Linked DNA regions of Homo sapiens: all the other regions are linked to region 7. The links are contacts of gene promoters, found by promoter capture Hi-C in human tissues and cell types (Jung and others, 2019). All regions are on one chromosome and are shown on one strand. The core of a region is centred on a gene start or on the middle of the fragment in contact, and the rest is flanking DNA. Distances in the headings are between cores, read along the strand shown. Region 1 has its middle 13 kb from the start of ASIP. Region 2 overlaps ASIP (agouti signaling protein). Region 3 has its middle 37 kb from the start of ASIP. Region 4 overlaps MMP24-AS1-EDEM2 (MMP24-AS1-EDEM2 readthrough). Region 5 overlaps TRPC4AP (transient receptor potential cation channel subfamily C member 4 associated protein). Region 6 has its middle 20 kb from the start of AHCY. Region 7 holds the start of TP53INP2 (tumor protein p53 inducible nuclear protein 2).

Evidence for each region. Contacts are between HindIII fragments. The study calls those that stand out against the background at their distance.
Region 1: a contact is called between a fragment that was not itself captured here and the fragment with the promoter of TP53INP2 in region 7, in 2 of the 25 tissues and cell types used here (IMR-90 fibroblasts and lymphoblastoid cells).
Region 2: a fragment that was not itself captured here is called in contact with the fragment with the promoter of TP53INP2 in region 7 in 1 of the 25 tissues and cell types used here (lymphoblastoid cells).
Region 3: a fragment that was not itself captured here is called in contact with the fragment with the promoter of TP53INP2 in region 7 in 4 of the 25 tissues and cell types used here (IMR-90 fibroblasts, lymphoblastoid cells, mesenchymal stem cells and 1 more).
Region 4: a contact is called between a fragment that was not itself captured here and the fragment with the promoter of TP53INP2 in region 7, in 1 of the 25 tissues and cell types used here (spleen).
Region 5: a fragment that was not itself captured here is called in contact with the fragment with the promoter of TP53INP2 in region 7 in 2 of the 25 tissues and cell types used here (aorta and dorsolateral prefrontal cortex).
Region 6: a fragment that was not itself captured here is called in contact with the fragment with the promoter of TP53INP2 in region 7 in 6 of the 25 tissues and cell types used here (IMR-90 fibroblasts, bladder, hippocampus and 3 more).

Annotation. Positions count from the first base shown.
Region 1 is chr20:34,226,737-34,230,048 of GRCh38, forward strand. It overlaps a transcript of ASIP not described here. Among named protein-coding and RNA genes, the nearest start is that of ASIP, 13 kb to the right of the region's middle. The HindIII fragment of the contact is 4,655 bases long and covers 1-3,312 here.
Region 2 is chr20:34,255,089-34,258,249 of GRCh38, forward strand. The region is part of intron 1 of ASIP (agouti signaling protein); the gene reads left to right. It also overlaps a transcript of AHCY not described here. Among named protein-coding and RNA genes, the nearest start is that of ASIP, 15 kb to the left of the region's middle. RefSeq lists an enhancer at 801-980. The HindIII fragment of the contact is 9,204 bases long and covers 1-3,161 here.
Region 3 is chr20:34,202,335-34,205,649 of GRCh38, forward strand. It overlaps a transcript of ASIP not described here. Among named protein-coding and RNA genes, the nearest start is that of ASIP, 37 kb to the right of the region's middle. The HindIII fragment of the contact is 6,854 bases long and covers 1-3,315 here.
Region 4 is chr20:35,118,223-35,121,206 of GRCh38, forward strand. MMP24-AS1-EDEM2 (MMP24-AS1-EDEM2 readthrough) reads right to left here. Exons shown (of 15, transcript NM_001355008.2): 14 at 376-497. It overlaps EDEM2 (ER degradation enhancing alpha-mannosidase like protein 2), which reads right to left. Exons shown (of 11, transcript NM_018217.3): 10 at 376-497. Among named protein-coding and RNA genes, the nearest start is that of TRPC4AP, 27 kb to the left of the region's middle. The HindIII fragment of the contact is 4,711 bases long and covers 1-2,984 here.
Region 5 is chr20:35,049,971-35,053,196 of GRCh38, forward strand. It overlaps TRPC4AP (transient receptor potential cation channel subfamily C member 4 associated protein), which reads right to left. Exons shown (of 19, transcript NM_015638.3): 6 at 1-24. Among named protein-coding and RNA genes, the nearest start is that of TRPC4AP, 41 kb to the right of the region's middle. The HindIII fragment of the contact is 3,382 bases long and covers 1-3,226 here.
Region 6 is chr20:34,321,323-34,324,487 of GRCh38, forward strand. No RefSeq gene overlaps it. Among named protein-coding and RNA genes, the nearest start is that of AHCY, 20 kb to the left of the region's middle. The HindIII fragment of the contact is 4,210 bases long and covers 1-3,165 here.
Region 7 is chr20:34,703,009-34,706,365 of GRCh38, forward strand. TP53INP2 (tumor protein p53 inducible nuclear protein 2) reads left to right here and starts at 1,336. Exons shown (of 5, transcript NM_021202.3): 1 at 1,336-1,504; 2 at 2,350-2,466. It overlaps LOC105372599 (a long non-coding RNA gene), which reads right to left and starts at 1,174. Exons shown (of 2, transcript XR_936690.3): 1 at 1,129-1,174; 2 at 651-805. RefSeq lists a silencer at 1,132-1,611. The HindIII fragment of the contact is 10,895 bases long and covers 1-3,357 here.

The DNA of each region.
Region 1 (3,312 bases), core at 268-2,767, 480 kb before region 7:
CTAACTTACATACTTAATTTTTTTTTATGTTTTATAGAGATGGGGTCTTGCTATGTTGACCAGGCTGGTCTTGAACTCCTGGCCTCAAGTGATCCTCCCATCTTGGCCTCCCCAAAATGCTTGGATTGCAGGTGTGAGCCACCACACCTGGCCCCATACTTGATTAAAGACCAAATGTTTTCTTCTACAATAAGGAACAAGGCAAGGATGTCTGCTCTCACATCTTCTATTGAACTCTCTACTGGACATTCCAGTTAATTCAGTAAGGCAAGAACAAGGAATAAAAAACAATAAGCTTGGAAATGAAACAGTAAAACTATTTATTTGCAAAAGACATGATTGTTTATGTAAAAAATCCAATGAAGTCCTTAAAAAGTCTGCTAGAACTAATAAATGAGTTTAGCAAGTTTGAAGCATACAAGATTAATATACAGAAACTAGTTTATTTCTATATTGTAGCAAAGACAATACAAATTGACGTGTTAAAAAATGCCATTTATAATGGTACCAAAAATATTAAATTTTTAATGATAAATCTGTGCAAGACTCATATACTGAAACCATAAGACATTAATGAGAGAAATTAATACTTAAATAAGTAAAGAGATATACCAGGCTGGGCACAGTGGCTCACACCTGTAATCCTAGTACTTAGGGAGGCCGAGGCAGGCGGATCACGAGGTCAAGAGATCGAGACCATCCTGGCCAACATGGTGAAACCCCATCTCTACTAAAAATACAAAAATTAGCTGGGCATGATGGTGCACACCTGCAGTCCCAGCTACTCGGGAGGCTAAGGCAGGAGAATCACTTGAACCCAGGAGGTGGAGGTTGCAGTGAGCCGAGATTGTGCCACTGCACTCCAGCCTGGTGACAGAGTGAGGCTCCATCTCAAAAAAAAAAAAAAAAAGAGATATACCATATTCGTGGATCAGAGGACTCAATATTGTTCTGATGTCAGTTCTCCCCAGGTTTATCAATAGATTCAACACAACTCCAATCAAACTCCCAGTAGGTTTTAGTAGAAGTTGACAAGTTTATTCTAAAATTCATGTGGAAATACAAAGGACTTAGAGTAATCACAACTTCAAAAAAGAACAGTTTGAAGACTTCACTCTCCCTGACTTCCAGACTTGGAGAATAATCAAAACAGTGTAGTATTGCTATAAAGATAGACAAGTCAGTAGTTCAGAATAGAGAGTCTAGGAATAGACTCACACATGTATGGTCAAGTGATTTCCCACAAGGTACAAAATATAATCTTTTCAGCAAATGGTACTGGAACAGTTAGCCATATGCAATAAAATGAACTTCAATTCATAACTTCACACCATATAAAAATTAATTCAAAATGGACTGTAGACATAAATGTAAAATCTAACACTATAGAACTTTCTTTTTTTTTTTTTTTTTTTTTTTTTTTTTTTTTTTTTTTTTTTTTTTTTTTTTTTTTTTTCCTGATTAATTTTTATTTATTTTTTTTATTTTTTCCTTTGGAAACTACTTTATTTTTTATTTATTTTTTTTTTGAACATATGTATTTGTCAATATATTTTTGGCTGATGTGTTTACACAGGAAAAAATAATATTTACATACTCAAACCTCAGTTCAACATTTTAACAAAACAACATGCAGAAAAGTCTTCACTTCCTTTCTAAATACAAATGCTAGAATGTCGGAATCACACGTGGATGTTTTGAAAAGCGTGCTGAGCCTCCTCAAGGGTCATGGAGCTGCACATGCTACGACACCAAAGCAACTGGGTTTTGTTGGTTTTGTGGCAGTTGCTTATTAATATGTAATTTACATTCAGTAAAATCTGCCTTTTATTTTTTTTTTATTTTTTATTTTTAAATTTATTTTTTTATTGATAATTCTTGGGTGTTTCTCACAGAGGGGGATTTGGCAGGGTCATGGGACAATAGTGGAGGGAAGGTCAGCAGATAAACAAGTGAACAAAGGTCTCTGGTTTTCCTAGGCAGAGGACCCTGCGGCCTTCCGCAGTGTTTGTGTCCCTGATTACTTGAGATTAGGGAGTGGTGATGACTCTTAACGAGCATGCTGCCTTCAAGCATCTGTTTAACAAAGCACATCTTGCACCGCCCTTAATCCATTTAACCCTGAGTGGACACAGCACATGTTTCAGAGAGCACAGGGTTGGGGGTAAGGTCACAGATCAACAGGATCCCAAGGCAGAGGAATTTTTCTTAGTGCAGAACAAAATGAAAAGTCTCCCATGTCTACTTCTTTCTACACAGACACGGCAACCATCCGATTTCTCAATCTTTTCCCCACCTTTCCCGCCTTTCTATTCCACAAAGCCGCCATTGTCATCCTGGCCCGTTCTCAATGAGCTGTTGGGCACACCTCCCAGACGGGGTGGTGGCTGGGCAGAGGGGCTCCTCACTTCCCAGTAGGGGCGGCCGGGCAGAGGCGCCCCTCACCTCCCGGACGGGGCGGCTGGCCGGGCGGGGGGCCGACACCCCCACCTCCCTCCCGGACGGGGCGGCTGGCCGGGCGGGGGGCCGACACCCCCACCTCCCTCCCGGACGGGGCGGCTGGCCGGGCGGGGGGCTGACCCCCACACCTCCCTCCCGGACGGGGCGGCTGGCCGGGCAGAGGGGCTCCTCACTTCCCAGTAGGGGCGGCCGGGCAGAGGCGCCCCTCACCTCCCAGACGGGGCGGCTGGCCGGGCGGAGGGCTGACCCCCCCACCTCCCTCCCGGACAGGGCGGCTGGCCGGGCGGGGGGCTGACCCCCCAACCTCCCTCCCGGACGGGGCGGCTGGCCGGGCAGAGGGGCTCCTCACTTCCCAGTAGGGGCGGCCGGGCAGAGGTGCCCCTCACCTCCCAGACGGGGCGGCTGGCCGGGCGGAGGGCTGACCCCCCCACCTCCCTCCCGGACGGGGCGGCTGGCCGGGCGGGGGGCTGACCCCCCCACCTCCCTCCCGGACGGGGCGGCTGGCCGGGCAGAGGGGCTCCTCACTTCCCAGTAGGGGTGGCCGGGCAGAGGCGCCCCTCACCTCCCAGACGGGGCGGCTGGCCAGGCGGAGGGCTGACCCCCCCACCTCCCTCCCGGACGGGGCGGCTGGCCGGGTGGGGGGCTGACCCCCCCATCTCCCTCCCGGACGGGGTGGCTGGCCGGGCTGAGGGGCTCCTCACTTCCCAGTAGGGGCGGCCGGGCAGAGGCACCCCTCACCTCCCGGAAGGGGCGGCTGGCCGGGCGGGGGGCCGACACCCCCACCTCCCTCCCGGACGGGGCGGCTGGCCGGGCGGGGGGCCGACACCCCCACCTCCCTCCCAGACGGGGCGG
Region 2 (3,161 bases), core at 652-3,151, 450 kb before region 7:
TGCTCTGATGGTGAACTGAGCTTGTACCTACATTATGAAGTGTTCAGAGCAAGTGATCACTGTGGACTTTGGCCAGTCCATGGACATCCAGTCCCATGGATATTGGCCTCTGGTCATGAGCTGTCCCACTACCCCTTGGATTTGTGAATATTGAACTGGACTGTTGATTCAGCCCCCTCGTTCTCAATCCTGTTCCTGGGTCTAACTTAATCTTCCCCAAACTCCTGCCACCTTTTTCTTTCTTCCTTTCTTTTCTTTTTTGGTATGATCACAGCTCACTGGAGCCTCAACCTCCCAGGTTCAAGCAATCCTCCCTCCCACCTCACCCTCCCAAGAGGCTGGGACCACAGGTGTGTACTATCACACCTGTGGGTGGCAAGCCACGCAGGTGCCAAGGCAAGAGACCGAGGGCACAAGCTGCTCCAGTATAATAAAGAAAATATATAGAATAAGAATAGTTATACTAGAAATAGATTATAGATGTGATTATATATGAATATCATTAATCATTAGTTTGTAGCATTACTCTTTATTCCAATATTATAATAATCTTTGTTCTACAATTATAACCTAGGAAAAACCAGGCCATACAGAGATAGGAGCTGAAGGGACACGGTGAGCAAGTGACCAGAAGACAAGAGTGTGAGCCCTCTGTTACGCCCGGACAGGGCCACTAGAGGGCTTCCTGGTCTAGCAGTAATGCCAGCACCTGGGAAGGCACCCATTACCTAGTGGACCTTGGTCTAGTGGTAGCATCAGTGCTCGGGAAGGCACCGGTTACTTAGCAGACCGAGAAAGGGAGTCTCCCTTTCCCCGGGGGAGTTAGAGAAGACTCTGCTCCACCACCTCTTGTGGAAGGCCTGACATCAGTCAGGCCCACCCGCAGCCTCCAGAGGCCTGACCATCTCCCTGTGATGCTGTGCTTCAGCGGTCACGCTCCTGGTCCGCTTTCATGTTCCACCCCGTACACCTGGCTCCGCCTTCTAGAGAGTGGTAGCAGAATTAGTAAAAGTACTAAAGTCTTTGAAATGCATAGAAGAAATAATGGCATAAACTGTCCTCTCTCTCCGCCTCGGCTGCCAAACAGGGAAGGGCCTCCTGTCTGGTGGACACGTGACTTGTGTAACCTTATCTATCACTGGAGATGGCTCACACTCCTTACCCTGCCCCCTTGTCTTGTATCCAATAAATAACAGCACAGCCAGGCATTCGGGGCCATTACTGGTCTCTGTGCCTTGGTGGTAGTGGTCCCCCGGACCCAGCTGTATTTTATTCTGTCTCTTTGTCTTGTGTCTTTATTTCTACGATCTCTCGTCTCCACACATGAGGAGAAAAAACCCACAGACCCAGTAGGGCTGGACCCGATAACACCCGGCTAATTTTTTAAAAATTTTTTGTAGAGATGAGGTCTCTCTATGTTGCCAGGCTGGTCTCAAATTCCTAAGATCAAGGAATCCTCCTCCTGTGGCTTCCTCCAGTGCTGGGATTATAGGCGTGAGCCACCATGCCTGGCCTCTTTTTCTAGCTCAGATTTTCCGGCCACTCTCACTTCTTTGTAGAAATTCCCATTACAGTTTTTGGCCCATGAGTATATTATTTATGGTAAGGAAAACCCAAAGACACAAAATAACTACACGTACCGCCTCCTAATTTATAACATGCCTCTTGTAACTTGCCTTAATCGAGCTCATTTGTTTTTGTTTTTGAGATAGAGTCTCACTGTGTTGCCCAGGCTGGGTAACAGTGCAGTGGTACAATCACAGCTCACTGTAGCCTCAACTTCCTGGGGTCAGGTGATTCTCCCACCTCAGCCACCCGAGTAGCTGGGAACACAGTCTTGTGCCGCCACTCCCTGCTAAGAGCCTTTTGTTAATCAGAGCTTCCCACCACATTCCACCACATCTCCATCCTTTACTTTCCTTGTTTTTTAAAGTTGAATTTCTTTCTTTCTTTTTCTTTCTTTCTCTCTCTCTTTCTTTCTCTTTTTTTTTTTTGTTTTTTGTTTTTTGTTTTTTGAGACAGTTTCCCTCTTTCACCCAGGCTGGAGTGAAGTGGTACGATCTCAGCTCACTGCAACTTCCTCCCCCTGGGTTCAGGCGATTCTCCTGCCTCAGCCTCCTGAGTAGGTGGATTTATAGGCATCTACTCAGGAGGCCACCACCTGGTTAATTTTTGTATTTTTAGTAGAAACGGGGTTTCACCATGTTGGCCAGGTCGAACTCCTGACCCCAAGTGATCCATTCGCTTCAGCCTCCCAAAGTGCTGGGATTATAGGCGTGAGCCACCAGCCCAGCCGGGTTGAATTTATTTCTAATTTGCCTTCCTAATTAATACCCATTAAAGCTAGATGCTGTTATTTGAAAAATGGTCTTTTTAGCAACAATCAGAAGCTAAAAATTAAAAACAATATTGCTTTTGGAAGAGATCAATGATACAGAATAAAAATTTTAAATATATATTTAATTTTATGTAACTAAAATATTATCTAGTTTACAAATATTTCATATTTCTATTCCAAATGTTACTGTATTGAATCTTTATGAATTCTAGACAGCATGATATAATAATAAGTTTCAAAACATTATGATAACTATTCATGATGTAATTTTTCCTCTGCCTCCACAATCCAAGTTTACCAGTCCTAGCTCTTGTCTCATTAGGACCCAGTCCTGTACTAAAACAAATCTGAAGTCTGATAAATTAATGAGAAATATTATTGGCACATTAGCCTTTTAATAAAGGTCATCAATATCTTTTCCTGAAGAAATAGTTGGGCTGGGTGCGGTGGCTCACACCTGTAACCCCAGCACTTTGGGAAGCCAAGGCAGGCAGATCACTTGAGGTCAGGAGTTTGAGATCAGCTTGGCCAACATGGTGAAACCTTGTCTCTACAAAAAATACAAAAATTAGCTGGGCGTGGTGGCAAGCACCTGTAGTCCCAGCTACTCAGGAGGCTGAGGCAGGAGAATTGCTTGAATCCGGGAGGCAGAGGTTGCAGTAAGCCAAGATCGCACCACTGCACTCCATCCTGGGCAACAGAGTGAGATTCCATCTTAAAAAAAAAAAGAGAGAAAGAAAGAAAAGAAATAGTTAAGTGCTCCATCGGTTAGTAGATATTGATGGAGCAAACATGATGTTCTTATTCCAATCCATCATGATTC
Region 3 (3,315 bases), core at 804-3,303, 500 kb before region 7:
CCACCCTGAAATATTTTACAGATATTGTCAGTTTTCCAAAATGATTGTGTCAATCTTGTCTGAAACAGTACATATGATGAAATGAATTTTAAATTTTATTTACTTTTAAATAATTTAAATGAATTGTGGTGAATGGCAATGTAGTTCTGGCAATGTTGTTCCACCTGGAATTGATTTTCAGGTATGATGTGAGGTCAAGTTTCCCTTTTTTTTCTGTATGGATATTCAATCAATCCAGCATCATGTACCGAAAACACTATTAATTTCCCACTTTTATTATTAATCCATTGTCTATCTAATATGTGTGTGTTGTTCTGGAATCTCCATTCTTTTCCATTTGTCCATTAGTCTGTCTTTCTGCCACTTGCACCCTGTTTCCATTTCCTGTAACTTTGCAATAAGTTTTGATATTTGGTAGAATAAGTCCTTCATGCCTCTCATCTTCCCCAAGATTGCCTTGGCTATTCTTTTTTTTTTTTTTTTTTTTTTTTCGAGATGGAGTCTTGCTCTGTTGCCCAGGCTGGAGTGCAGCGGCATGATCTCGGCTCACTGCAAGCTCCGCCTCCCAGGTTCACGCCATTCTCCTGCCTCAGCCTCCCGAGTAGCTGGGACCACAGGCGCCCGCCACTACGCCCGGCTAATTTTTTGTATTTTTAGTAGCGACGGGGTTTCACCGCGTTAGCCAGGATGGTGTCAATCTCCTGACCTCATGATCTGCCTGCCTCGGCCTCCCAAAGTGCTGGGATTACAGGCGTGAGCCTTGGCTATTCTTGAACTTCTATATTTCCACATAAACTTTAGGATAACTTTATAAATTCTACCAAAAAAAACCCTGCTGGAATTTTTATTGGGATTACATTAAATCTGTCCATCAATTAATATGAAAGTCTTTACAATATTAAATTTTTTTATCCATGAATATGGTATATCCCTTCACTAGTTGAAGTCTTATTAAAATTTTTTGATGTTTTATAGTTTTCTATGTAGAAACCTGGTATATTATTCATTGGATTTATTCCCAATTATTTTCTATTTATTTTATAAGTGGCATATATATATGTATATTATATATATATTTTTTGAGACACGGTTTCACTCTGTCACTCAAGCTGGAGTGCAGTGGCATGATTTTGGCACACTGCAACCTCTGCCTCCTGGGTTCAAGTGATTCTCATGCCTCAGCCTCCCAAGGAGCTGGGATTACAGGCACCTGCCACCACACGTGGCTAATCTTTGCATTATTGTAGAGACAGGGTTTCGCCACGTTGGCCTGGCTGGTCTCGAACGCCTAACTTCAAGTGATCCTCCCACCTCGGCCTCCCAAAGTGCTGAGATTACAGGCATGAGCCAATGCACCCAGCCTTATAAGTGGCGTATTTTAATTTTATTTATTTATTTATTTTTTGAGATGGAGTTTCGCTCTTTTTTGCCCAGGCTGGAGTGCAATGGCACGATCCTGCCTCACTGCAACCTCTGCCTCCTAGGTTCAAGCAATTTTCCTGCCTTAGCCTCCCAAGTAGCTGGGATTACAGGCACACGCCACCATACCCGGCTAATTTTGTATTTTTAGTAGAGATGGGGTTGTTTCACCATGTTGGCCAGGCTGGTCTCGAACTCCTGACCTCAGGTGATCCACCTGCCTTGGCCTCAAAGTTCTGGGATTACAGGCGTGAGCCACCACGCCCGGCCATAAATGGCATATTTTAATGTTCATTTTTAGTTGTTTGATGCTGGCATATTGACATAATAATTAAAATTTTGTATTTATACTTGCATACAGCAACCCTGCTTAATTAACTTAATAATTCTTATAGTTTATTTATAGATTCACAATCATGTAGTATGTGTAGTGTGTGTAGTGATTTCTTTCAGATAGTTATTTTTTTAATTTTTTTTTTTTTTTGAGACGGAGTTTTGCACTTGTTGTCCAGGCTGGAGTGCAATGGTGCAATCTTGGCTCGCCGCAACCTCCGCCTCGTGGGTTAAAGCGATTCTCCTGCCTCAGCCTTCCGAGTAGCTGGGATTATAGGCACACGCCACCATGCTGGCTAATTTTGTATTTTTAGTAAAAATGGGGTTTCTCCATGTTGGTTAGGCTGATCTTGAACTCCTGACCTCAGGTGATCTACCCACTTTGGCCTCCCAAAGTGCTGGGATTACAGGTGTGAGCCACTGCTCCTGGCCCGTTTTTTAACTTCTTTTTCTTGAATTATTGGACTGGGTAAAACCTTAAGAACAATGATGAATAAAAGTGAAAATAGCAGGCATCCTTATCTTAGTTCTGATAGAAAGAAAGCACTCAATAATTTCAGTTAAATATGATGGTTGCTGGAGTTTACTTTTTGTAGTTACTCTTTATCAGATTGAGGAATTTTTCTTCTAATTCTAGTTTGATATAATTTTTAAACATTAACAGATGGTGAATTTTATGAAATGTATTTTTCTCATCAGTTAAAATGAGCCTGTGATTTTTACACTTTATTCATTTTATTTATTTTCTATTTTTATGGATAGGTAATAGTTGTACAATTTATGTGGTACATGTGATACTTTGATACAAGCATATAATGTGTAATGATCAAATCAGGATAATGGAATATCCATCACCTCAAGCATTTATCATTTATTTGTGTTGGGAACATTCCAAATCTACTCTTCTAGTTATTTTGAAAGGTACAATAAATTATACTTAATTATACTCACCCTATTGTGCTACCAAGTACAAGTGTGCCTGGAATTGGTGGGTTCTTGGTCTCGCTGACTTCAAGAATGAAGCCATGGACCCTCACGGTGAGTGTTACAGTTCTTAAAGATGGTGTGTCCGGAGTTTGTTCCTTCAGTTGTTCAGATGTGTCCGGAGTTTCTTCCTTCTGGTGGGTTCGTGGTCTTGCCGACTTCAGGAGTGAAGCTGCAGACCTTCACAGTGAGTGTTACAGCTCTTAAAGGCATCACGTCCAGAGCTGTTCATTCCTCCCAATGGGTTTGTGGTCTCACTGGCTTCAGGAGTGAAGCTGCAGACCTTCGTGGTGAGTGTTACAGCTCATAGAGGCGGCGCATCCGGAGTTGTTCATTCCTCCCGCTGGGCTCGTGGTCTCGCTGGCTTCAGGAGTGAAGCTGCAGACCTTCTCGGTGAGTGTTACAGCTTATAAAGGTAGTGCAGACCCAAAGGGTGAGCAGCAGCAAGATTTATTGCGAAGAGCGAAAGAACAAAGCTTCCACAGCGTGGAAGGGGACCCAAACGGGTTGCTGCTACTGGCTCTGGTTGCCTGCTTTTATTCCCTTATTTGGCCCCACCCACATCCTGTCGCTTGGTCT
Region 4 (2,984 bases), core at 388-2,887, 420 kb after region 7:
TATAGGGCTATGGGACTCTGGATTCCCCTTAAAATCTATTTTAGTGTCTCACAAAACTTTTCGCTAAACTCACCTTTTCAAAGTCACCTATTCAAACAGATCAAAGATCTCCACTGTGGGAGGAATGCCAAGGGCCGGGGTCAAGATCCCAAGGAACTAATTCTAGCTCTACCTCTACTAGCTGTGAGATCTTTAGCAAGGCACTTAGCTTCTCTGTTCTTTGGTCTCCCCATCTGTAAAATATGAGCATTATGTATATCTCCAAGGTCCCTTCTAGTGCTGATATGTCAGAACTCCCAAAGCTCTACCCTTAAAGAGGCTTTTTAGCAGCAAGGGGAGACTCTTCCCAGTTCTTGGGGCCATGCAAACACTTACTGTTGCAAATCCGCACTCCACCTTGCTGATTTTTTCAATGGATTCCACAGCATCTCTTCCGAGTTCTAGGAGGGTGGGATCCCCCGTGGCACGGTAGAGGTACATTGCGCTTTCAATAAGTTCTGCAAAGTCCAAAGCAGACCCTCCTCACTCAGTGGCTGCACAGAGATGGCCTGGGGCCTCTTAGGGCCGTGAGGGACTACTCCCCTCCATATCTTGTCCATAAGGCCCCAACTAGCAGGAACACAGGATACCTCACCCAGTGCTGAGTTTCAGAGCCAGTATACCCAAAGCTTGAAGCTCAGTGGAGACCAGCATTAAGGCTGACCAGTGACTTCCACCACAAGGGAGAGAAAGGTGGCCAGGTTCTGGCATAGAGAAGGTGGCGGAGGTTGTTGCCTAATTCCCAATATCTGTTCCCCGCTTCCTCCTTAGTAGCAGGATTCCTAACTTTAGCTAAGCACAGGCTGCCTGGCTGCCAACACTAACTATTCTAACAGCTAGGTGGGATTAAGGACACCATGGCGAGCCATATAAGCCCAGAACATGAGAGAGAAATACATTTCTATCCTAATTAAGCTACTATTTTTTTTCCTGTCACTCAGAGTCTAACCTAATTCTAAAACTCAAAAGAAGAGTAAGAGCTTGGCATCATAAGGCTCGTTCTAAGATAGGATGGACCAAAAGAAAAGGCTGAGATATCCAAGAGCAGGCCAGGCATGGTGGGTGGCTCATGCCTGTAATCCCAGCACTTTGGGAGGCCAAGGTGAGAGGATCGTTTGAACCCAGGAGTTTGAGACCAGCCTGGGCAACATGGCGAGATCTTGTCTCTACAAAAATTAAAAATGATTAGCTGGGTGTGGCATGCACCTGTAGTCCTAGCTACTCAGGAGGCTGAGGTAGGAGGATCACTTGAGCCCAGGAGTTTGAGGCTGCAGTGAGCCATGATTAAGCCACTGCGGCACTCCAGCCTGGATGACAAGAGTGAGACCTTATCTCAAAAAATAAAAATTAAAAAAATAAAATAAAATAAACCACCAAACCGTCAATCTAACAAAGACGTAGTCATCAGTTCACTGTGGCCAGAAAAAGTGATGTTTTGTCTTGCCCAATTCTATGCCACAACTGGAACTTGATGTTAAGACATGAGCTCTACCTTAAGATGAATATTAGCCAACAGGAGTGGGTCCAGATGAGAATATTTATTCTAGAGATAAGGAAATCCAAAAAAAATGTGTTTATTGCTTTCAAATACCTGAAGAACTGTTGTAGAGTTGACTTCAAGGGTGGCCTCAGCTCAGTATGTTTTTCTACTTCATCCATCTTTTCTAAGAGACAGAAGAACCCCTGTCTCCTTTCTATACCATCATCTCCCCCTGACCTTCTCCTGTCCTGTTTCCTCCTGGGCTTGATCAGTGCTTCTGTCCCTTTTGGCTTATTGCTGCAAACTCTGGTTCTTATTTTATTCCGTTAATTACTTTTTTGTGACAGAGTCTCACTCTGTCACCCAGGCTGGAGTGCCATGGTGCGATCTCCGCTCACTGCAACTCTGCCTCCTGGGTTCAAGGGATTCTCATGCCTCAACCTCCCAAGTAGCTGGAATTACAGGCATGCGCCACCAGCCCTGACTAATTTTTGTATTTTTAGTGGAGACAGGGTTTCGCCATGTTGGCCAGGCTGGTCTCAAACTCCTGACCTCAAGTCATCCGCCAGTCTTGGCTTCCTGAAGTGTTGAGATAACAGGCGTGAGTCACTGCACCCAGCCTCTAGTTCTTATTTTAGAGAAAAGGTCTCTGCCTATCTCCCCAGTTCTCTCTTACTTCCTCCTCCCCTCTCCTCACAGGCCTCTAGACAATTGCTAATCTAATTGCTCATATTCTAAGGCACAGACTAGGGTACATTCATTACTAGATGAACACATTCTGTGTGTTCAAAGGCAGAAAAGACAGTGCCCTCATGGGAGGCCTCCTCTTCTGCTTCTTTTTTCGGCTTCTTCTTTTTTTTTTTTTTTTTTTTTTGAGAGGGAGTTTTGCTGTGTTACCCAGGCTAGAGTGCAATGGCATGATCTTGGCTCACTGCAACCTCTGCCTCCCAGGTTCAAGCAATTCTCCTGTCTCAGCCTCCTGAGTAGCTGGGACTACAGGCACATGCCACCGTGCCCGGCTAATTTTTGTATTTTTAGTAGAGACAGGGTTTCGCCATATTGGTCAGGCTGGTCTCGAACTCCTGACCTCAGTTGATCCACCGCCTTGGCCTCCCAAAGTGCTGGGATTACAGGCGTGAGCCACCACACCCAGCCCTCTTCTGCTTCTAGCAGCTGGTGGGCCAGTGCCCTCATGACCAGCCATCACGCTTCTCTCCTCACATGTGGGCCTCCTAAGCATGTTAGTTATTGCTTTACTTTCCTGTGCATCTGACCAACTCTGTCGAGCAGTGGTCCCCAACCGTTTTGGCACCAGGGACCAGTTTCATGGAAGACAATTTTTCCATGAACTGGGCTTGTAGGAGATGGTTTTGGGATAATTCATGTGCATTACATTTATTGTGCACTTTATTTATATTATTATTACATTGTAATATATAATGAAATAATTATACAATCCACCATA
Region 5 (3,226 bases), core at 311-2,810, 350 kb after region 7:
CAAACGCTTTGTAACTCCCTCTGTCTGTCACAAGAAGAAAAGGCAGAATAGGTTGTAAGTACAAAATAAATTATGAAAGTACAAGGCATCCTTTACAGACACTGAAAAGCAGTTTCACCTCTGAAAACTGGCATGAGTCAACAAAACAGGAATGGCATGGCTTAACTGTGGGAAACGCTCGTTAACTCCCCAGCTATGGAAGAAAAAAGTCTCCTGACGTGCAGGCTACACAAGTGGGAACTCACTTGTGAGAACATAACACAATGAGATGGTATTTCCTAAAATAACTTATCTCAGAGTTCTGAAGGCCATTCTTAAATCTGAAATCAAACAGTGCCGAAGCATGGACTTAAGAGTCAGACCTAAGTTCTAATTCCAGCTGTGTGATCCTGAGCAAATCACTTCTCACCTTTGGAACTCCATTTTTTTCATCAGTAAAATGATCATCTTAAAAGTCTTTGAGGCCAGGCGTGGTGGCTCACACCTGTAACCCCAGCACTTTGGGAGGCCAAGGTGGGCAGATCACTTGAGGCCAGGAGTTCGAGACCAGCCTGGCCAACGTGCCAAAACCCTGTCTACTGAAAATATAAATATTAGCTGGGTGTGGTGGTGCATGCCTGTAGTCCTAGCTACTCAGGAGGCTGAGGTAAAAGGATCATTTGAGCCCAGAAGGTGGAGGCTGCAGTGAGCCTAGACTGTGCAAATGCACTCTAGCCTTGGCAACAGAGGGAGACCCTAACTCAAAAAAAAAAACAAAACAAAAAAACCAACAACAACAAAAAAACAAAACCCCCAAGGGGTATGAAGGAAGTTAAGGAAACTAGCTGGTAAAAGACCTTAAAACTTAGGTTCAAGAGTTTGGATTTAAAACTGCAGTATTGTCAAGTGCAGTGGCTCACACCTGTAATCCCAGCTACCCCGGAGGCTGAGGTGAGAGGACCGCTTGAGGCCAGGAGTGTGAGGCCGCAGTGAGCTACAATCTGTCTCACCACTGCATTCCAGCATGGGGACAGAGTGAAACCCTATCTCTAAAAAGAAAGAAACTGCAGTACTGCTATAGCTTACACACACACACACACACACACACACACACACACACATATATATCCCACCCCTACTGCCTTAAGGCAACTAGAGCTTAGTGACTTTAATATTTCTTTTTTTTAGCCTCTAAGCTGAAAAAATTCCAAGGTTTACTGCGATAAACTTGACTTCTCCTTAAAAAGTATAATCAAGAGTGCAGACACACACAGTTTGGTAAATGGGAACCCCAAGCTAGGAGGCATTTCAGAATCAGTGAAATGAGATATGTTGCAACAAATTTAATTTTCTTTCTTTTAATTTTAGAGACAGGGTCTCACTCTGTTGCCCAGGCTGAGGCCATGACTATTCACAAGTACGAATATAGCTCACTACAGCCTCAATCACCTGGGCTCAAGCGATCCCCCCACCTCAGCCTCCTGAATCACTGGGACTACAGGCGTGCACCACCGCACCTGGCAAATTTAATTTTCAAAGTGAAGGCATCAATAAAGATGTGCCACGTATATAAATCTTTGACGATCACATTAAATAGGACACTAAAGAAAGCAATCTCCATCTGTATTAATACATTTCGGTTCTTCAGTCGTAGCACTGACACATTAAAAAAAAAAAAAAAAAAGGTTGTTATTCCCGAACTACATACAGTACCTACACTGGCTATGATATGTGAAACAGGACTGACTCTAGTTTTACTGACAAGCAAAAGTTCTGGAAGATCCAAAGAAACAGAACAAAAAGAGAACTAAATTTACACTTTCTCAAAGCTTAAAAATCTATCTCCAGGCTGTCAAATACACAACCCTGCTGCTCTAACTAGCTACCCTTGACTACCCACCTTTCTCCTCTCTTCAATTTATCAAAGTGCTACTCCTTTTACAGACTGACTAAAATGACTCCTCTTGGAAAACCTTCCCAAGTCAACAGTGGCCACCCAAAAGGCCATCACAATCCTTCCTTTCCTCTATATCACAAGTTCTTAACTGAGGCCAAAAAGCACTAAAACAATATATAAAAGGTTGTATGCAACTACATTTTTCGGGGGAGAGTTTTTTCCATGTAACATTCATCATAGGTTTTTTTTTGGTTTTTTTTTTTTTTTGGAGACAGGGTCTCACTCTATAGCCCAGGCTGAGTGAGTACACTGGCACAATCATGGCTCACCGCAGCCTTAACCTCTCAGGCTCAAGCAATCCTCCCACCTCAGCCTCCTGAGGAGCTGGGACTATGGTATATAACACCACGTCCAGCCAGTTTTTTATTTTTTGTAGAGACAGGTTCTATGTTGCCCAGGCTGGTCTTGAACTCCTGGACACACACAATTCTCCTGCCTCGGCCTATCAAAGTGTTGAGATTATAGGTGTGAGCCACTGCGCCCAGCCTAATCATAAGCTCTTGACCTAGTATCTGTCAAGTATCTAAATGAGGAGCTACAAACTAGCATCCAGTAGGCCAAGCTTTTTCTGGTGAGCAGTACTGTTTATTTTTTTATCTTTTATTTTTTGAGAGACCCTCACTCTGTCACCCACGCTGGAGTGCAGTGGTGCAATCTCAGCTCACTGCAACCTCTGCCTGCTGGGTTCAAGTGATTCTCTTGCCTCTCCTGAGTAGCTGGGACTATAGGCATGTACCACCACACCTGGCTAATTTTTGTGTTTTTAGTACAGACGGGGTTTCACCATGTTGGCCAGGCTGGTCTGGAACTCCTGACCTCAAGTGATCCACCCGCCTCAGCCTCCCAAATTGCTGGGATTACAGGTGATAGCCACCGTGCCCGGCCAACAGTACTTTTTAAACTTTTGAATTCAAACATCTTTAGACAGGACATACTTGCTCCAGTTTAGTCACAGTTTACACAAGTCCCCACTCCAACACCAGCAATTCCAAACATTTCCTGTTTTCTGCCTGATCCCTGGAGGCATTGGTGTTTGCAACCCTGAGAGCCCCAGGTTCTCTACATTAACATGGAATTCAGCCAGATAGCACATAATTGAACCATATCGCCCTATGTTCCTCAAATTTTTTAAAAAATTTTATTTAAAAATACTTTTAGTTGATATATAATAAAGGTACATAATTTCAGGGAGCATATAATTTAATACATTCGTATAATTTATAAAAATCAAATCAATGTACTTGGGATAGCCATCAGCTTAAATACTTGTCTTTTCTTTATGCTAAGAAC
Region 6 (3,165 bases), core at 28-2,527, 380 kb before region 7:
TTTTTTTGAGGTGGAGTTTCTCTTTTGTCACCCAGGCTGGAGTGCAATGGCGTGATCTCGGCTCACTACAACTCCACCTCCCAGGTTCAAGCGATTCTCCTGCCTCAGCCTCCCAAGTAACTGGGATTACAGGTGTGCACCACCACGCTTGGCTAATTTTTTGTACTTTTAGTACAGACTGGGGGTCTCACCATGTTGGCCAGCCTGGTCTCGAACTCCTGACCTCAGGTGATCTGCCTGCTTTGGCCTCACAAAGTGCTGGGATTACAGGTGTGAGCCACCGTGATTGGCAGGTTTAAAGCATTCTAAGTCACAGAATAACATAGGAGATCTGCACAAAATGCAGGTCATAAATACCTTGCTAATAAAACAGGTTGCAGTAAAGAAGCCACCAAAACCCACCAAAGCCAAGATGGCCACGAGAGTAACCTCTGGTCGTCCTCACTGCTACATTCCCACTGCAGCCATGACAGTTTACAAATGCCTTTGCAATGTTAGGAGGTTATCCTATAAGGTCTAAAAGGGGAGGGATGAATCATCCACCCCTTGTTTAGCATATAATCAAGAAATAACCATAAAAATGGGCAACCAGCGGCCATTGGGGCTGCTCTGCCTATGGAGTAGTCATTCTTTTATTCTTTTACTTTCCTAATAAACTTGTTTTCACTTTATGGGCTTGCCCTGAATTTTTTCTTGCGTGAGATCAAAGAACCCTCTTTGGGGTCTGGATCGGGACCCCTTTCCTGTAACACTATGGATGTCTGTGAGTGTGTGGGACAGAGGAGTGAGACCTTGAGGTCAAGTGTAAGCATGTGTGTCTACAACTGTGCATAATTAGGACTGTGTGTGGGTAAGTTAGCTGGTGAGGGTTATAAGAATATGAGATATGGCCAAGCATGTGTGTTAGATTGAGTGTGTATGTGTGTATGAGTGTTATGTGTTTTCCAGAAGGTGCTTGTCCATGCCTGATACTTGCAAAAAATGAGAAAATGTCGAAACAAAGAACACTTTCAGAGCTTTACAGAGATGTTCAAAGCAAATGAACCTCTGGGTACTGTGACCAGCTGGGAAGATGAGGCGAGCCAGGTGGAGGGGTGTGGAGAAAAGCTTTTCTGAAGTTCCTAATCTCACTCAGGCAAGGAGCCAGGGACCCTATTAGGGTCAAGTGCTTCCCACGCACAGTTGCCTTCTTAGTTTAGATGACAGCTGCACATCTGGGCCTTCTTCCTCCTCATCCCCATCATAATTAGTGGTTAATTCGTTCATTCATACAACAAACATTTACTCAGTACTGACTTTTAAGTGAAGTTTAGCCTAAACCTGACTCCTCACATATTTTGAAGTTCAGCCTAAAGGTTTCTCTGTACATTGTGAACTATAACCTAAATGGAATTGTAAACAGACTGCAGCCTACTCTTGTGCCAGTCACCGAGTTTTGCCAATCAGGTGTGGCCAGCTATTCAAACCGTGTTCAAATAAGACAAAAACGCCATGCTATAACCAATCTGGTTGTTTCTACAGAAACAACATTTTCCTTTTTCTGTTCATAAATCTTCTTCCACCACGTGGCTGTGTCATAGGCTATACTCATAGGTCGAACCAGAGCAACACCATCTTGAATAGGGGCTGGGTAAAATAAGGCTGAGACCCTGCTGAGCTGCATTCCAGGAAGTTAGGCATTCTAAGTCACAGGATGAGATAGGTCAGCATAAGATACAGGTTACAAAGACCTTGCTGATAAAACAGGATACAGTAAAGAAGCCAGCCAAAACCCACCAAAAACCAAGATGACATGAAAGTGCCCTCTGGTCGTCCTCACTGTTCATTATACGCTAATTATAATGCATTAGCATGCTAAGAAACAGTCTCGCCAGTGCCACGACAGTTTACAGATGCATGGCAACAGCTGGAAGTTACTCTATAAGGGAAGGAAACTTCACTTCCAGGAATTGCACAACCCTTTCCCAGGAAACTCATGAATAATCCACCCTTTGTTTAGCATATGGTCAAGAAATAATGATAAGTATAATCAGTTGAGCAGCCCATGCTGCTGCTCTGCCTATGGAGTAGCCACTCTTTTATTCCTTTACTTTCTTTTTTTTTTTTCTGAGACAAGTCTTACTCTGTCGCTCAGGCGGGAGTGCAGTGGCGCGATCTCGGCTCACTGCAACCTCTGCCCCACAGGTTCAAGCAATTCTCCTGCCTCAGCCTCCTGAGTAGCTGTGATTACAGGTGCATGCCACCACGGCTGGATAATTTTTTGTATTTTTAGTGGAGACGGGCTTTCGCTGTGTTAGCCAGGATGGTCTTAATCTCCTGACCTCTTGATCCGCCTGCCTCAGCCTCCCAAAGTGCTGGGATTACAGGCGTGAGCCACCGCACCCGGCCCTATTCCTTTACTTTCTTAATAAACTTTTCACTTTGTGGACTTGCCCTGAATTCTTTGTTGCGTGAGGTCCAAGAACCGTCTCTTGGAGTCTAGCTAGATTAGGACCCCTTTCCAGTGACAGCTGCGTGGGAGTCTCTGAGCCTACACTGGCTTGGGAGGCTGCCCATTCTTTGCTCAATTAAACTCTTTTACGTTTAATTCAGCTAGTTTTTCTTTTAACACTACTAAGGGCCAGGAACTGTGCTACAGCAGTGAGCGAAGCCCTGTCCTTGAGGAGCTAATGTCCTAGAGGGGGGATATATATATATATAAACATTACACAGTTATTCTACACATATATAAACATTACATAGTTATACTGCACATGTATAAACATTACATATATAAATGTATATTACATATATAATATATATAAAAACATATCTATCTACACACACATAAAGATATTTGTGTATAGATATACACAAATATGGTGGAACTCAGTGGCTCATGCCTGTAATCCCAGCACTTTGGGAGGCCAAGGTGGGAGGATCGCTTGAGGCCAGGGGTTCAAGACCAGCCTGGGAACACAGCAAGACTTGTCTCTACAAAAAATTGTAAAAATTAGCCGAGCATGGTGGTGCATGCCTGTACTTCCACCTACTTGAAAGGCTGATGTGGGAGGATTGCTTGAGCCCGGGAGTTCAGGGTTACAGTGAGCTATGATTGTGCCACTACACTGCAGCCTGGGTGACAGAGTGAAACATTGTCTCTTAAAAAAAACAAAAAACTAAATA
Region 7 (3,357 bases), core at 86-2,585:
AGCTGGGGCCTAGAGCGTGGGGTGGGTGGAATCCTGAGGGCAGAGAGTGTGGAAGAATCTTACAATGGCAGCTCTAGAGGGAAGCCTGGATATGTTTGTTTGACAAACTGAGACCCAGAGAGGTAACATGACTTGAGGTCACACAGCAAGTCTAGGGCACAGTCAGGACTGAAAGCCAGGACTCTGGGGAGGCTAAAGCGCCCTGAGGTTTAGACCATCTGGTTCATGTAGAGAATGGAGAGGGTCAGGGCTGGGAGCTATGGGTTCAAATCCTGGCTCTGCCATTGACTGTACTTTTGTGACCTAAGAAAGTCACTTGAGCTCTCTGAGTCTGTTTCCTCAACTGTTAAACGGGACAATATCTACCTTTTGGGTTGTTGTGAAGATAAAAAAACACACCCATAGCACAGGTCGTGGCACACAGTAAGTGTGCCAATACATGTCAGCTAGTGGTATGGTGGTGCAATAGTAGGTGCCTAATAAATGTTGAATGCATTGTTGAACATGAGTTCACACGCTAACAGTGAGATTGTGAGACTCAGCTTTCCCACGTGTAAATCAGGACTCATAATCAGTCCCTGTCCTGCCACTTCTTTACAGCCCCGGTAGCAACATAGATTAAATAAGGTATGTAAACGTTCAAGCGCGGAGCCGTCTCAGGTCAATGTTTACTCAGCCCAGGGCAATTCCTCTCCAAGTCCTACTCTGCGAAATTTCACGTCAGCTTCACTAACTTCTCTACATTCCCAGATGCTCCCCGGGAACCGGGGGTTGGGGATGTCCCTCTTTTCTCAAGCCCGCCGAGCTGAGGAAAAACGGGGTGGGAAAGCAGAGTGTGTAAGGCTGAGGAGGTGAGCCAGAGGGGGGAGGGAGAGCAGGAATAAGGGCAGTGGGGAGAATGCAGGTGCACGGACGTGGTGTGGGTCGAGAACAGGGTCCGCATCGGGGGACTTGGATATAGGATGCAGTGAAAGGATTTGGGGAGCAGTGGGAGAGGTGAGGGCGCTGCGATCCGGGAAGAATCAGGAAAATAAGGAGCCGGTAGGAGGGAGTGGAGATCCTCCTCGCGGAGAGCTCGCCGCGGCGCAGGGCTCCCAGCTCCCCGCAGCTGCCTCCCCGAACACTCACCCTCCCGGTTCCGAGAACGTTTCCCGGCCCGAGCGCCCGGCCCGCAAACCGGGAGGGGAGGGGAGGGGAGGGGCAGGGGGGGATCCGCAGCCCGGGATTGGCCGCCGCCCCGCCAGCCGGTGACGCGAGGCGGGCGGGCCCCTTTGTGACGTCACAATCAGCTGTTTGAACGTTCCAATTTGTGCCGTGAGCCCCGCCGCAGCGGCCGCACAGACTCAAAGCCCCGCGGGCGAGCTCAGCAGCCCGGAGCGACCGCGGCCCCGCCGCCTCCCCCGCGAGTCCCGGCGATGCGGCCCGGCCTGTGAGCGGCCGGCGACCCTGGGACGCCCCGCCGCACAACTACCTCAACGCCGTGCCGCCCCCCTCCCGCCCCCAGGTGAGTCCCGACCCGGGTGGGCCTGGGGGCTCCCCTGCCACGGACACGCCCTGCGCCCCCCGCGCCCGGGCCTTTGTCTGTCTCCGCCGGCGGCCGCCGGGGCCGCGTTCCCGGCTCCCGATTGGTTGCCGCACGCCCGGTAGACCATGACGTCGTTCTATTTGCATATGACATTGAGACGTCACCAAGGCCGGTACCGCCCCCACAGGCTCGGGTCGCTTGTCCTCCCGTGACCCGGTAGCCGCTGTGTCGGGGCTGGGCCCTGGGTGAGACGCTGCAATCCAAAGGGGGCTGCAGGGGGATCGGCGATTTCCTAGGCTTATCCAGGGGCTGGGGTCAGGCCTCTGATCCCCTACTTTCTCTTTGCAACCTGAGAAGGAGTCAGACGGCGCTGCTGGGCCTAGGTTGAGGGGGTCGTCAGGAGTTCAGGGCTGCATGGGACTCCAGGTGGTTGGGACAGCACCAGATGGTGGTGGGATCCCCTCCCTCCGGCTCCAGACTCCGCCCCCAGGGACTAACAGAATAACATCCTCCTAATCCCTGATTTGTGTGCAGCGCCTTAGCTGATGTCACTCCTAGACCCAAAATGAAGGGTCTTAGACCCCAGTGCATGGAAGGGGCAACAGGCCCAGAGAGGAGGATTAGCTCTCTCGAGGTCACATAACCAATTAGAGTCATGCTCACTGAGTGACAGATGGATTATTAGCCAGGGGCAAAGACATAATAGGGGCTCAGTACAAGTGGTAAGATACACATCCTCCTTCCACTGGGGACCCGATCTTGGGCTCAGCCTTATCACGGTTTGATAGGCTCCTAGGTGTCCTTACTCCTGGACCCTTTTCCAGGGAATCTCTGGAGATTGGTTCACCTTTTGTGGTCCTGACCCCTTCTGTCCTCACTGTACCTTGAAGTCCTAGAGTCCAATAAAATCGCTGCCTCCCAGCTGTTTGGATCACAGAGAGGTGAGTCATTGGCTGCCTCGGGGTGTCTCCAGGGCTGATGTTGGGGTGGAGGGTGGGGTGAGGGTTCCCTCTATTGGCCCTTTACCTTCCCAACTTCCTAGGTCGTCAGCTAGGAAGGGCCTGACCTGGCCTAGTGCAGACAATTGCAGGTGTTTTGCTGCTCCCTCGTCACCTCTGCCCACAGAGAGTATAGGAGAAGGGATAGGATAAGGAGAGTTTCTGACTTAACAAGTGGATGGGCCTAGAGGCTGAACCAGGAACTCCATTCCTGCTGGGAGTTTGCTCAAGGATGGGCTGGGGGTAGGGGTGGCTTAGGGCACAAATGCTATTCTGGGCAGAGCTGCTGTAGTTATTAAAGGGAATGGTTCTCCCTGGAGCAGAACTGGGAATGTGAGAACCAGGAAGCTGGCAGGGCTGGGAAAGGAAATCTGGGAGGCTCCCCAAGTGGTCAGGAGAGGGGGCAGGCACTGGCTGGCTGGTGACTGCTTTCACTCCTGGCTGTCACTGACTTGCTGTGTGACCTCAGGCAGGGAGCTTTTCCCCTGAGCCTCCCTCCCCTAAACCTATCTGAAATTTGGGGAGGCACAGTGCAGGCTCTGGTACACAGTGGGTCTTCAGTAAATGCATGCTAAATCTTGGTGCCAGTAACCCCAGACCCTTTTGTAGCTAGGCGAGGGGTGGTGTGGCTAGGTCAAGGTCTTTTTCACCTCCCTGTACCCCTGCATCATTGTATTCTTGGGGATTGTTTGCTGAGTCTTTCCTGACTGTGTACACTCTGGACTGGATGCACAGTAACGTGGGACTAGGTCTGCCCTGCCACTATCTAGCCATGTATTTTTGGATAGATTTATGTCTTCTTTCTGATCATCAGATTTTAAAATGGGCTGGGTG